2 separate regions of the Homo sapiens genome follow, and region 1 is linked to region 2. The links are contacts of gene promoters, found by promoter capture Hi-C in human tissues and cell types (Jung and others, 2019). All regions are on one chromosome and are shown on one strand. The core of a region is centred on a gene start or on the middle of the fragment in contact, and the rest is flanking DNA. Distances in the headings are between cores, read along the strand shown.

Region 1 (6,534 bases), core at 2,228-4,727, 62 kb after region 2:
TGATATATACAGATCTAGTTTCCTTCTTCCACTGTAAGGCTTTATTACAATTTAAGCTATCTATCTTCTCAAATGACATTTAGATTGCTTTTAATTTTTTGATCATACATAATGTTGCAACAAACATCCTTGTACTGGTCTCATTGTACCATATGTGAGCTTCTCTAGGATTCTTAGAAGTAGAAATGCTAGAGTCTAGCAGCTACATCATAAAATATGATTATTTTTAATTCTGGATATTGCTTAATTTACCCTCAGAAGTATATTTTTGCCCCTGCCTTCTGAGATCCCCTAATGGTTCCTCTCCCACGGTGCATGCTTCACTTCCTCCCACATTGCATCTGCCCAATCTCAGCTGCTTTTTGCAGTCCTTACAAATATTTACTGGTTCATGAATTACATATATTTTTAGTTTTACTGAAAATGGAGTTCGTGGGAGTATTGTTGCTTTTGCTTTTGTATAATTTCTGGGAAGAGAAGATGAAAAGTGCTAATTTACCCAGGCATAGTTATATTGAGAGTGGGAATCTGGATTAGAACTACTCGAAGGTATAAATTATTTGAGGGAGAAGTCTTATCTATTCAAGCATGAGTTTCCCATTGATAAATATTTTCTCTCTTTTCACCAAATCTTTGTTTATGTGCTTAAAGAATAATTTATACTTTTCACCATAAATCCCTTGTACATTTTTATTAAGTGATTCCCTAGGCACTTTGTTATTCATTGCTACCGTGCATGTAATTTTTTTCAGCCAAGTGCGGTGGCTCACCTGTAATCCCAGCACTTTTGGAGGCCGAGACAGGAGAATTTCTAGGTCCAAGAATTGGAGACCAGCCTGGGCAACATAATGAAACCCCATCTCCACAAAAAAATATATTTTTTTAATTAGCATGGCATGGTGGTGTGGACTTGTGGCCCCAGCTACTTGGGAGGATGGGGTGAGAGGATCACTTGAGCCATAGGGTTTGAGGCTGCAGTGAGCTATGATCACATTACTACACTTCAGCCTGGGCAACAGAGTAAGACTCCATCTCTAAAACAAATAAATGAATGTAATTTTTTTCAAGATTTTTTTCTTTTTTTTGGCAGAGTCTTGCTCTGTCACCTAGGCTGGAGTGCAGTGATGCAATCTTGGCTCACTGAAACCTCCTCCTCCTCGGTTCAAGTGATTCTCCTGCCTCAGCCTCCCGAGTAGCTGGGACTACAGGCATATGCCACCATGCCCAGCTAATTTCTCTGTATTTTTAGTAGAGACGGGGTTTCACCATGTTGGCCAGGCTGGTCTTGAACTCCTGACCTCAGCTAAATAATTTTTCTCTTCTTTTTCTTTCTTTCATCTTCTTCCTTTTTTTTTTTTTTTTTTAGAGACAGGGTCGCACTCTGTTGCCCAGGTGGGAATACAGTGGCAAGATCATGGTTCACTGTACACTGTAACCTTGAACCCCTGGGCTCAAGCAATCCTGCATCAGCTTCTTGAGTAGCTAGGACCACAGGTGTGCACCACCACACTTGGCTAATTTTTCTTTTGTAGAAATGGAGGTCTTACTATGTTGTCCAAGCTGGTCTCAAACTCCTGGCCTCAATCAATCCTCCTGCCTTGGCATCCCAAAGTGCTGGGATTACAGGTGTGAGCCACTGCACCTGGCCTCAACAATTTTTCTAATTGGATATTTCTCTCATATAGGAAAGCGACTGATGTATGTTGACTTCTTGTTGAACTCTCTTTTTAGTTCTGATAATTTATTTTTCTAAGAGAGCACGTGTGCAAATAAGGATAGTTTTGCTGCTTCTTTCTAATCGCCATGCCTCCATTTTTCTCTTATCTTGCTGCACTGACTCAGTGTTCCTCAACCAGGGTGCTATTGCCATAATGGGCAGATAATTATTTGTATGAAACTCCCCCAAGCAGTACAGGATGTTTAGTATCCATGCCAGCCTATCAGCTATACCCTGTCCCACGAGCTAAATACCAGAAGCACTTCCTATCATTATTACATAGAAAAATGCCACTCATATTCCCAAATGTTCCTGAAAGGAGAGATCATAGCCAGGCTTGATAAACTCTGGGCTAAGATCTCCTCTACGTTGTTAAATAGTAGTGATAATGAGCATTACCAATGTCTTTTTCTTTTAAGGTAAAGCTTCTGAAGTTTCACCTTTAGTATGATGTTTATTACAGGCTGTGGTAGATATTCCTTATTAAGTCTCTAAAGTTTCCTTCTGCTCCCAGTTTATTCAGAGTATATGTCATAAATGAGCACTGCATGCTATAAAATACTTTTTCCTGCACCCAGAGGATTTTTCCTATGTTTTCGGTTAAAATGGTAAATTACATGAATGGCTTTCTGGTATTGCAACAAACTTGAACTTCTCTGATTAACTCCATCTGGTTATAAGTCACTCTTTTAAAATACAGCAAGATTAGATTGCTAGTATCTTATTTAGAATTTTTTTGCATATTTCTTCATATGTGAGATTGGCCTGTAAGTTTCCTTACTAGTATAGTTGGCCCTTCATATCCATGGTTCTACATCTGTGGATTTGACCAACTGCAGGTTGAAATTATTTTTTTTTAAACTGTGTCTGTTCTGAACATGTACAAACTTTTTTCTTGTCATTATTCCCTAAACAATACAGTATAATAACTATTTATGTATAATTTACATTGCATTAGGAATTATAAGTAATCTAGAGATTAAATATATGGGAGGATGTGTGTAGGTTATATGCAAATGCTATGCCATTTTACATAAGAGACTTGCGCATCCAAAAATCTTGGTAGGGTTGGAGGGTCCTAAAATCAATGTGCTACCAATACTAAGTAATAACTGTACTGTCCTCATTCAGTTTTCAAATTAAGGCTATACTGGTCTCATAAAATGAATAAATTAACTTTTATTCTGTGTTTCCTGAAAGAAGTTGCATAAAGCAGTTTATTTGTTCCTTAAAGGTGTGGTAAACTTACCTGTAAAACTGTTTAGGCCTGGTGCTCTTAAAAGAATTTTTTTTTCTTTTTACCAGGTCAATTTCTATAGTTACTCTTCTATTCAGGTTTGTGATTTCTTCTTAAAACCAACTTAGTAATTTACATTTTCTTTAAAAATTGTATAATTTATCTAAGTTTTCTTTTCTTTTTTTTTTTTTGAGACAGAGTCTTGCTCTGTCGCCCAGGCTGGAGTGCAGTGGCATCATCTCGGCTCACTGCAAGCAGAGCCTCCCGGGTTCACGCCATTCTCCTGCCTCAGCCTCCCGAGTAGCTGGGACTACGGGCGCCCGCCACCGCGCCCAGCTAATTTTTTTTTTTTTTTGTATTTTTAGTAGAGACAGGGTTTCACCATGTTAGCCAAGATGGTCTCGATCTCTTGACCTCGTGATCCACCTGCCTCAGCCTCCCAAAATGCTGGGATTACAGGGGTGAGCCACCGCGTCCGGCCCCTAAGTTTTTTTTTTTTTGATTTATGTATTTGAGACGGAGTCTCGCTCTGTCACCCAGGCTGGAGCACAGTGGTGCAATCTTGGGTCACTCACTGCAACCTCAGCCTCCTGAGTAGCTGGGATTACAGGCACCCACCACCACGTCTGGCTAATTTTTGTATTTTCAGTAGAGACGGGGTTTCACCATGTTGGCCAGGCTGGTCTCAAACTTCTCACCTCAAGTGATCCGCCTGCCTCAGCCTCCCAAAGTGCTGGGACTACAGGTGTGAGCCACCACGCCCAGCCTTTCTAAGTTTTTAAATATAGGGCAAAAGATATTCATAGCACTCTCGTATTTCTTAAGTTGTTTATTCTGTAGTTACTCTGTCCCCCTTTCTATCCCAATACTCTGTTTGCATCTTCTGTCTTCTTTCTTGATGCTTCCTACAAGAGGCTTGGCTGTATTATTAATCTTCATTAGAAAATTACTTATGGCCCTAATGACCATTTCTTTTGCCTTTTAAAAGATCTGTATTGTCAACTATTTGTTTCAACTTTATTATTCATTTAACATGTGAAGACTGAATAGGTTTAAAATGTAAAGCACTTGGATCAGTTCTTGACACATCATAAGCACTTAATTTTATCCCCGCAGTGCTTACAGTGTCATCCTTTTTCACTGTCGTTATTTTTCCCTTATCTTTATGTAAACTTTTCATGAATGTACAGCATACATAAACAAAAACAAACATCCCATATAATCAGCACCCAGATCAAGGAATAGAATATTACCAGAACACTAGAATGCCCATGATACTCCCTTCCCAGTCACTACCTGTCCCAAGGATAGCTACCATTCTCATTCCTAATGCGTTAATTTAGTTTTGACTGGTTTTACATTTTATGTAAATGAAATCACAGTGTAGGCACTCTTCTGTATCTTATTTTGTTCAGCATTATATACGCAATTATATACACATCTACAATCTCCCTTGTAATCACATGTAGTTGTACTTCATTCTCATTATTATATAGAATTCCATTATGTGAATAGACTATATTTCATTCATCCATTCTATGGTTGATGGACATTTGGGTTGTTTTCAGTTTGGAGTTATCATAATTAATGCTGCTGTGAGTTTTCTTGTATATGTCTTTTGGTGAACACTCCTATGCATTTCCGTTAGCAGAATAATGTGCTCATTTTTTTTTTTTTTGATGTATACTTAGGAGTGAAATTGCTGGATTGTAGGTATGAACACATTACATAAATAAATTTACTTAATCCTTACAGTATCCTATGAGATAGATATTCTTCTTATGTATGAAAATGTCTTTATCTCGCCTTCACTCCTCAATAATAGTTTGCCTGGTAAAAGAATTCTAGGTTTGCAATCATTTTCCCACAGCACCTTAAAGGCAATACTACAAAATATCCATCTTTTTTTTTCTTTGTAGGTAATCTGAGTTATCTTTCTAATAGTTTTTCTAATAGTTTTTTCACTTTTTCTTTCTCTTTTATTAGGAGGTGTGAGTTTTTAAAAAATCATTCTGCTTGGTACTCAGTGGAATTTTTCAGTGTGAAGGCTAATGTCTTTCTTTAGTTCTGGGGAGTTCTCAGCCACTGATTCTTGCATTGCTTCTCTACCATTTTCCCTATACTCATGTCCTAGCCCCCACAGCTCTTACTTTTCTTTTATCTTGTTCTACCACTATATGTTGCATTGTGGAATATGTGTCCATTTAATCTGTCATTTCACTAATTTGCTCTTCAGCTCCGTCTATTCTACTATTGAGTTCACTTTATTTCAAACGTTATAGTTTTCCTCCCCCTTGATTCCAACTGGTTCTTTTTCATGACTCCCATTCTTGTTTTGGTGTTGCTATTTCCCCCTCATCCTTTTGAGAATATAGAAAGCACTTCCTAAGTCCTTTTCAGACTGCTCCATTTTCTGTTTACTCAGAAATTTATTCTTCCATTTCCTTTATTTGTTGTGGGTCACTCCTGGTGTCTCTGTTCCTTGTGTGCTTTGGGGTTCTTGGGTGGAGACCAGCTGCAGGTTTCTCTCATAAGCACCCTGGTCAATAAGCAGCCTTGACCTGCGAGTGGCTACTACCTAAATTCATTCTTAGAACCCTGCTCATCACCACAAGGTGAGGAGTCCAAGGCCTCATGCCCACCTGGAGCTATTTCCAGGTGGTCCTGGAAATCCTTCTACAAATGGCCCCGAGCCTGCTTCCAAAGGTTCCATGGGCCTCTTCACAGGATTCAGATTCCTGAGAGCATACTATATGCTGCTGTTTCTTCACCCTGAAGCCCAAGGTGGGGCCAAATGGCAGCTGTTCGTAGGGATGTGTGAACATTGAGAAGAAGAGCTGGGGTAATCACGGGCATGCATGACAGGCCCCTCAGATGTAGAGCAGAGCCAGGGTGGGGAGAGAAAAGGGCAGGCCACAGCAGGCTCTCACCTCGCTGCTGCATTACAGTATGGAATCCCAGGAGTCTAAGAATTCCAATTTAAACTTGTCCTTTTAACTTGTTATAAAGATGTTTGTGAAAAAAAAAAAAAAAAAAACCAACGTATTTTACTTAACAGATATTAGCTTGATTTATAATTTTAAAATATCTATACATATGGTAGGTGGGCCTCCCTTAGAGTCCTGGGTCCCACAAATGGTAGGAGTAGGCCTGTCTCATAGAGGCTTTTATTGACACTTTAACTTCAGTTCTGCTATGACAGTGTACCAGATTAGGTTGTTTTTTTTGTTTGTTTTTTGCCTAATGAAGCATTTCTGAGCCTCTGCCTGGCTCTTGTCCTTCTGCAGTTTAACGCCAAGTCCTTATCACACCAAGAGGTAAAGTCCAAGGCCACAGGCAGGAATGCCTGACTCTGCTCTGTCTATAATCTTTATTGGGCAGGCACCAGGCTTCAGTTGCACCAGTGTGCAGGAGAAGGGCGCTGGCCCCTCACCTTCAGGCAGGTGACTTGGACCTGGTTCCCTGCCATGCACAGCTCCTACTCACCACCAAAGGTTCCCAGCTACTTCTTTCTTAGGAAAAAGTCTCCATTTCTACATTACGAATATTTTCTTTCTTGCTTTTAAGTGTGTCTACATGT
Region 2 (5,905 bases), core at 1,621-4,120:
ATAAGCTTTTATAACTATTAAGAGAATTCCATAAGGTAACTAGGCAAAATATCAAAACACAAAATAGATTTTCTATTTATTGGGGGAAAAAATCAAGTAGAAAAGGTAAACATTATAGTGGAAATTGGCTCAGGAATAGGAAATAAATACAAAAGGACACAGAAATGGACATGTGTAAGTGGGAATTTAGTACATGATAGAGGTGATATTTCAAACAAATAGGAAAAAGATGGACTTTTCAATAAATAGTATTGAAATAATGTATTGCAATAAGTGCCAGGTGAATAAAGACTAACTTTTTAAATAAAAGTATTACAGGAAGGTGCACCAAAGTAGCTTCATAATTTTGGAAGTTGAGAAATCTTTTAAAAATCAGCCTCAAAGAGTAAAATCCAGAAAGAGGGAAACTAACAGATTCAACTACATCAAAATAACAACAACAATAATAGTAAAAATTTCTGTTGGCTAAAAAGTATGATTTAAACAAAGCTTAGAGAGAATATTACACACATATCAAATAATTTGCATTGAGAATAAATAAAAAACTCCTACAAAGAAGAAAAAAAATCCGACATAAAATAAGCTAAGGATATGAATAGGTAATTTAAGAAGAGAAATACAATGGCCAAGAGGGGTCCTATAAAAAGAATGCTCAACTTCATTAATAATCAGGGAAATTAAAATATTGAAATAATGGGTTGTCATTTGCACTAATTCAATGGAAAAAATAATAAAATACTGAATAAACAGCAAGCATTGTTTGGAGTGTGGAGGAACAGTAACTATCCTTCTCTGCTGGTGGGAGTACAGTCGGTTCGGGTACTGTGGAGGGCTGTTTGGCAGCCAAAAATTGAACCACATATATCCTGTGATGTGGCAATTCAACGTCTTAGTAGTTCCTCTAGTGCAATACGTGCACATGTCTAGAAGCAGACAAACACAGTGAGGTTCATTGGTAAGACTGAAAAATTGGAAAAGCTTAAATATCTATCGAAAAGAAAACGGCTAAATAAAAGAAGTGTACACTGTGAAATATGACGTAGCAGTTAAAATAAATGAAGTAGAGCTCTATACAGATATGGAAAGTCTCCAAGTCTTGCTATTGAGTGGAAAAACAGAATTAGAACAACATGGCAACAGATAGGTTTAATAGTCCATCTATGCATAGATGAACACACACACAGACACAATGGTCTGGCAGTAAATATATCACACTAAGTACTTTTGGGGAAACTGGAGATTAGGATTGACAGAATGGCCAAAGGTGAATTTAGGTTTATCTATACTGCTTTCTCATTTTCAAGGAGCATGAAATCATGTATTACTTTATAATTTAAAAAGTTATTACCTAAAAAACCTAGTCTAGTCAGTTTTGTGGTTGTCTTGGGTTTATTCCATAATAATTTTGGAACAAGTTGACAGCTTTTAGATCAGGAGTTGGCAAACTTTTTCTGTTAAAGGCCAGATAGTTAATATTTTAGGCTTTGTGGGCCATACTGTCTCTTTCGCAATTGGTCAATTTTGCTGACTCAATGAATCAGCTATAGCAGGCACTATTCCTCTCCCACATGGCCTCTAATGATATGGCCAGAGTTGAAAGGATGTTGTAGGGCAAAAACAGCCATATACAATACATAACGAATGGGCATGGCTGTGTTCCAATAAAGCTTCATTTATAAAAACAGCTGGTGGGCCAGAGTTAGCCTGTGAGCCATAGTTTGTCAACCCCAGGTTTAGACTTTTATGACATAACTAAAATATTTTTAAAGCGTATTTGTGTACCACAAAATACTTTTTCCCATTAACCAACTGATTAAATAAGCCTCTGAGGCCTCCCTTAGCATCCTTTCAACTCTGACCATATCATTAGAGGCCATGTGGGAGAGGAATAGTGCCTGCTATAGCTGATTCATTGAGTCAAGACTCAGTGGCCTCAGAGGTGTCTGTTGACCTGTCCTAGATATGGAGTGGCCTTAAAGCAGTGCCTCTGGCCATAGCTTCAGCCGAGCTGGGCTGTAAAGTGGAGAGAAGAAGGACCTGGTGGCACTGACCACATGCAGGCAAGACTCGGTTCTGTGGGACAAGGTGCCCTTTCAATAGTAGAGGTAGAAAACTCACTGGTTTGAAGCCAACTCAGCCGCAGCACTGTGCAGGGGTATGGCAGGTGCTCTGAGGGACCCCTCCTTGAAGTGGTGAGTCCTGGTGACTGTCATGCTGCTGTCCTTGGCCTCAGGGGGCTGCCAGCACTAACCCAGCAGGCCAAAAGGAATCAGGACTGAGTTGATCCCAGTTCCCATAGTCCCCAGCTCCCACAGTCCTTGGAGGTGGTATTTCCTGGGTCCAGGGACTCCAGCCCTGTAACAGGGAGCTGGTTGTATGTGTGACTTGTGGTAACTCATGCAGTAGTTAAGGCTTCTCCTGTGGTGATTTTTCTAGGAGGCTAGTGCAGGACCAGAGAGCATCAGTAATGGGGCTCAACATTAAGTGATTGTTTTCATGCTTTTTTTTTTCCACCCTAGAAATGAGGAGACAGCAGCAAGGCCAACATGATTCACGACCCACTATGATGCTGACCTCAAACAGAAGGTATATTTGTGTTCACACACATCTTTTGGCTGGAGCTGAAGGGCGGTCAGCCCCCAGCAAAAGAGAAAGAAAGAAAAACCATACCTGCTTGGTGGTAAGTTCTTTGCTCCGACTTCTCCCCTGGGGTCCACTTTGAACAATCCGGTGCAAAGGATCGATCAAGGAGTAGCTTTACCAAGGAGCCGCTGCCTTGTTCAGGACAGGAGTATTAGCTTATTCTCTTGCTTTTCTCACTGTGAACACTTGGCTTGCAGGCTGAGGCCGAGATTCCCACTGAAGTAAAGGCAGTGCTTCCTCTTCCCGTCCTAGTCATAGGTTATGATTTCCCCGGATATGAGACAATCTTGTCTCTCACCTATATTTCAGTCCAAGTCAGATGTAGGCACTAAGCGGCTCCATTGCCCCTCCTAAGTCCCAAGTCCAGCACTTGAACTAGCAAATGAAGAGATTACCGTATTTGTTCTCATTATGTTCTCCCTACTTTTTTCTTTCAGGTCTCTTCACTACAAAAACACAGGAAAAGGGGAAGAGAGTGGCAAATATCCGCTTTGTCTAAGTAATTCTGAGTGCATTTCATCAGTCTGAGGGTCTCTGTCCTTTACCACTAGGGGCAACATTAATTTGAACCTAGATCTCCTTATACTTCCTCCTTTGTTGAAACCACCTCCCTGGATAGTGTTACTTGATGTGAAAGTGAGCAAAGTATTGATTTATGACGGTGCCAATCACCAGCATGGTTATGTAAGAGGGGGGCAGGCACACAGGGAGAGGGAAAGGGTGTGAGATGAGGGGGCTGAGCACAGTTCTCGAGAATGTGACCCCACCACTTTGATCTCAGAACAGAAGGCTGACCAGGAGTGGGGAGGATGGACCAGCTGAGGGCTCTTTCCTCTCCCGGGTCCTGCCAGAGGGGAGCTGAAGAGTCCTCACTCTTCAGCCTCAACCTTCTTATTCCCTAGCAGCAGGTGCTCCCAAGTGAACAGAATCAACAAAAGCCGAATGTGGTGGATACCAGGATGTGTTTCTTCTACTTGCTTTGTTTATAAAGATGCTTTATGGCAGGTGAGGGGAGTGGAAGTAACTGCTCCTACCTAAAAGGCAAACAAGTACAAGCCTCTGGCAACAGTAAAGCAGGGGCATGGGCCCCAACAAGAGAGGGAGAGGGAGACCACGATTGAGCAAACAGGTAGAAAAGAGAACCTGGGATTGCCAAAAAATGACCACAGTTGTCTTCAGGTGAACATTTGGACTTCCTTACATTTATTTATTGACTTAAGTTGTTATTATTTTGAAGTACATGCTTTAATCCAGCCCTGGTGAGAAAAGCCAGAATATCTAAGTATGATTTGTTTGTTTTGTTTTTAATTGGTTTCTTCTCTATCCAATTTGCACTTCCCAAGGGATGAGAAAGACTTGAGGCTGGGATTTCCTAGGGGTTGACATTTCTCAAGTGGATGCTTGCCTTGCTGTTTTCAACCAAGCGCAGAATGTAAGGTGCTTACACAGCTCACTGCTGGGGACTTACTGCCAGCAGTGGGGACTGGGACCCACAGCCATAGAGCTCTGTCCTTTTTCCAGTCACATTTCTGATTATCCACATGGGATTCTGCTAGGGCTAGGAGGTATTGGATTACAAATCCCACTGGACAGAAAGTTGACTTGGGCCTTAGGCAGGGAGGACCTAGAGTAAGTGAAATATTGAATGTCATGAGGATATTGGAAAGAAAAAGAGTAAGTGAAATACTGGATTTCAGTACCAGTGGAAGTAGCCTGAACAGTGTGCTCTGGGGTAGGAGGACAGCATGGGGCTATATCTGGGGCCTGCAGGTCCCCTGAGAAACACAGATCAGAAGGCCATGGCTAAAGCCAAAGAGGGTGGGAAAGCTGGAAAGGGTTAAGAACTCACCCCAGGAAACTTATTTCCAAGATCAAAAGTAGGCCTTTCTGCACTGACAGGTATCTCCAAGTCCAGGGAAAAAAGGCATGACTCCAGCTCAGGTAGGCCACCTTGCCAGAAGTCCTTAGGTTATGGGTAACATACGTAGCTTTCATCATCTCTCAAATCCCTTCTGGCTCACAAGGGCCTGACCTTCTCTCTCTTAAAAATATAGTGAATTATTTACAGCAGAAACAGGAAACTAAGAACAGATTATGAAACCACTGAGGTAAAGGAAATATTCTCAGGTTTCTGCAGGGATCTTTGGGTCTCTTTTCCTTTGGGTCTGTGGTGTGAAGTCCCAGCTAGAAGACAGGAGAAGGCTGTAGGAGTGCCAGGCCTCTCTAGTCTAGCACTGCACTGTTAATATCAGACATGGCTCTATAGTGAAATGAGTTAAGAATACAGCCAGAAAATACACTCTCGTTCTTAAGGACAGCTTACTAATGCCCTCAGTTGAGGGCCAGAGTCACTCTCAAGCCCAGCTGGGAAGTCAGAGAAATTTGAGGCCTTGACCTCCATTCTATACTTTGCCTATTGCAGCAACCAGAAATGTAGAGCTCCTAAGAAACTCATCAGAGAAAAGCAGATCTGATCAGCCTGAAGAGTTTCTTTTTTTTTTTTGAGACAGTGTTTTGCTGTGTCACCCAGGCTGGAGTGCAGTGGCATGGTCATGGCTCACTGCAGCCTCAACCTCCTGGGCTAAAGCAATCCTCCCACCTCAGCATCCCAAATACCTGAGACTACAGGTGTGTGCCACCATGCTTGGCTAATTTTTTTTTTTGTTTTTCTTTTGTAGAGACGAGGTCTCATTATGTTGCCCAAGCTGGTCTCAAACTCTGGGGCTCAAGCAATCTGTCTGCCTTGGCCTCCCAAATTGCTGAAATTACAGGCATAAGCCATTGTACCTGGCCAGTTTCCTCAGTGTGAATTCATTTAATGTTTTACCCCTCTCCAGAGAATATTAATATTTAAAAAGAGGAACAGAGAGAACAAAATAAAAGAGTGATGCACTGATGATATAAATTCAGGTGGAATCTGAGGAAAATAGGTGTTTATCAGCCAGTCACATGGTCTTTCTCAAAAATCTCTTAGCCTCCCTCTGGGGTGTGCTCAGGGGCACTTAGGGCAGGAGCATGGAGGTGACACTCTGATCCCCATGAGGCAGTCTTGGAGGAAACTTCTCCCTTTTCATCCTTAAGTGGAGGTAGTAGAAGTTACCCAAAAAGGCTAGGAATAGGAATCTTCTCTTTGAAAGCGGTTTCATTTTATCACAAGTAGAAGCAGTGACACAAAGTTTAACTTCCCAGAAATCGCAGATTCCAGCAACTGGAGGACCACTAAATTTGAGCACCAGCTGTTCCAGATCCTATAATTACTCTG

Evidence for each region. Contacts are between HindIII fragments. The study calls those that stand out against the background at their distance.
Region 1: a fragment that was not itself captured here is called in contact with the fragment with the promoter of NR1I2 in region 2 in 2 of the 25 tissues and cell types used here (bladder and liver).

What each region holds. Positions count from the first base shown.
Region 1 is chr3:119,717,008-119,723,541 of GRCh38, reverse strand. The region is part of intron 6 of CFAP91 (cilia and flagella associated protein 91); the gene reads right to left. Among named protein-coding and RNA genes, the nearest start is that of CFAP91, 17 kb to the right of the region's middle. The HindIII fragment of the contact is 8,574 bases long and covers 1-6,534 here.
Region 2 is chr3:119,779,066-119,784,970 of GRCh38, reverse strand. It overlaps NR1I2 (nuclear receptor subfamily 1 group I member 2), which reads right to left and starts at 2,870. Exons shown (of 9, transcript NM_003889.4): 1 at 2,671-2,870. The HindIII fragment of the contact is 9,150 bases long and covers 1,324-5,905 here.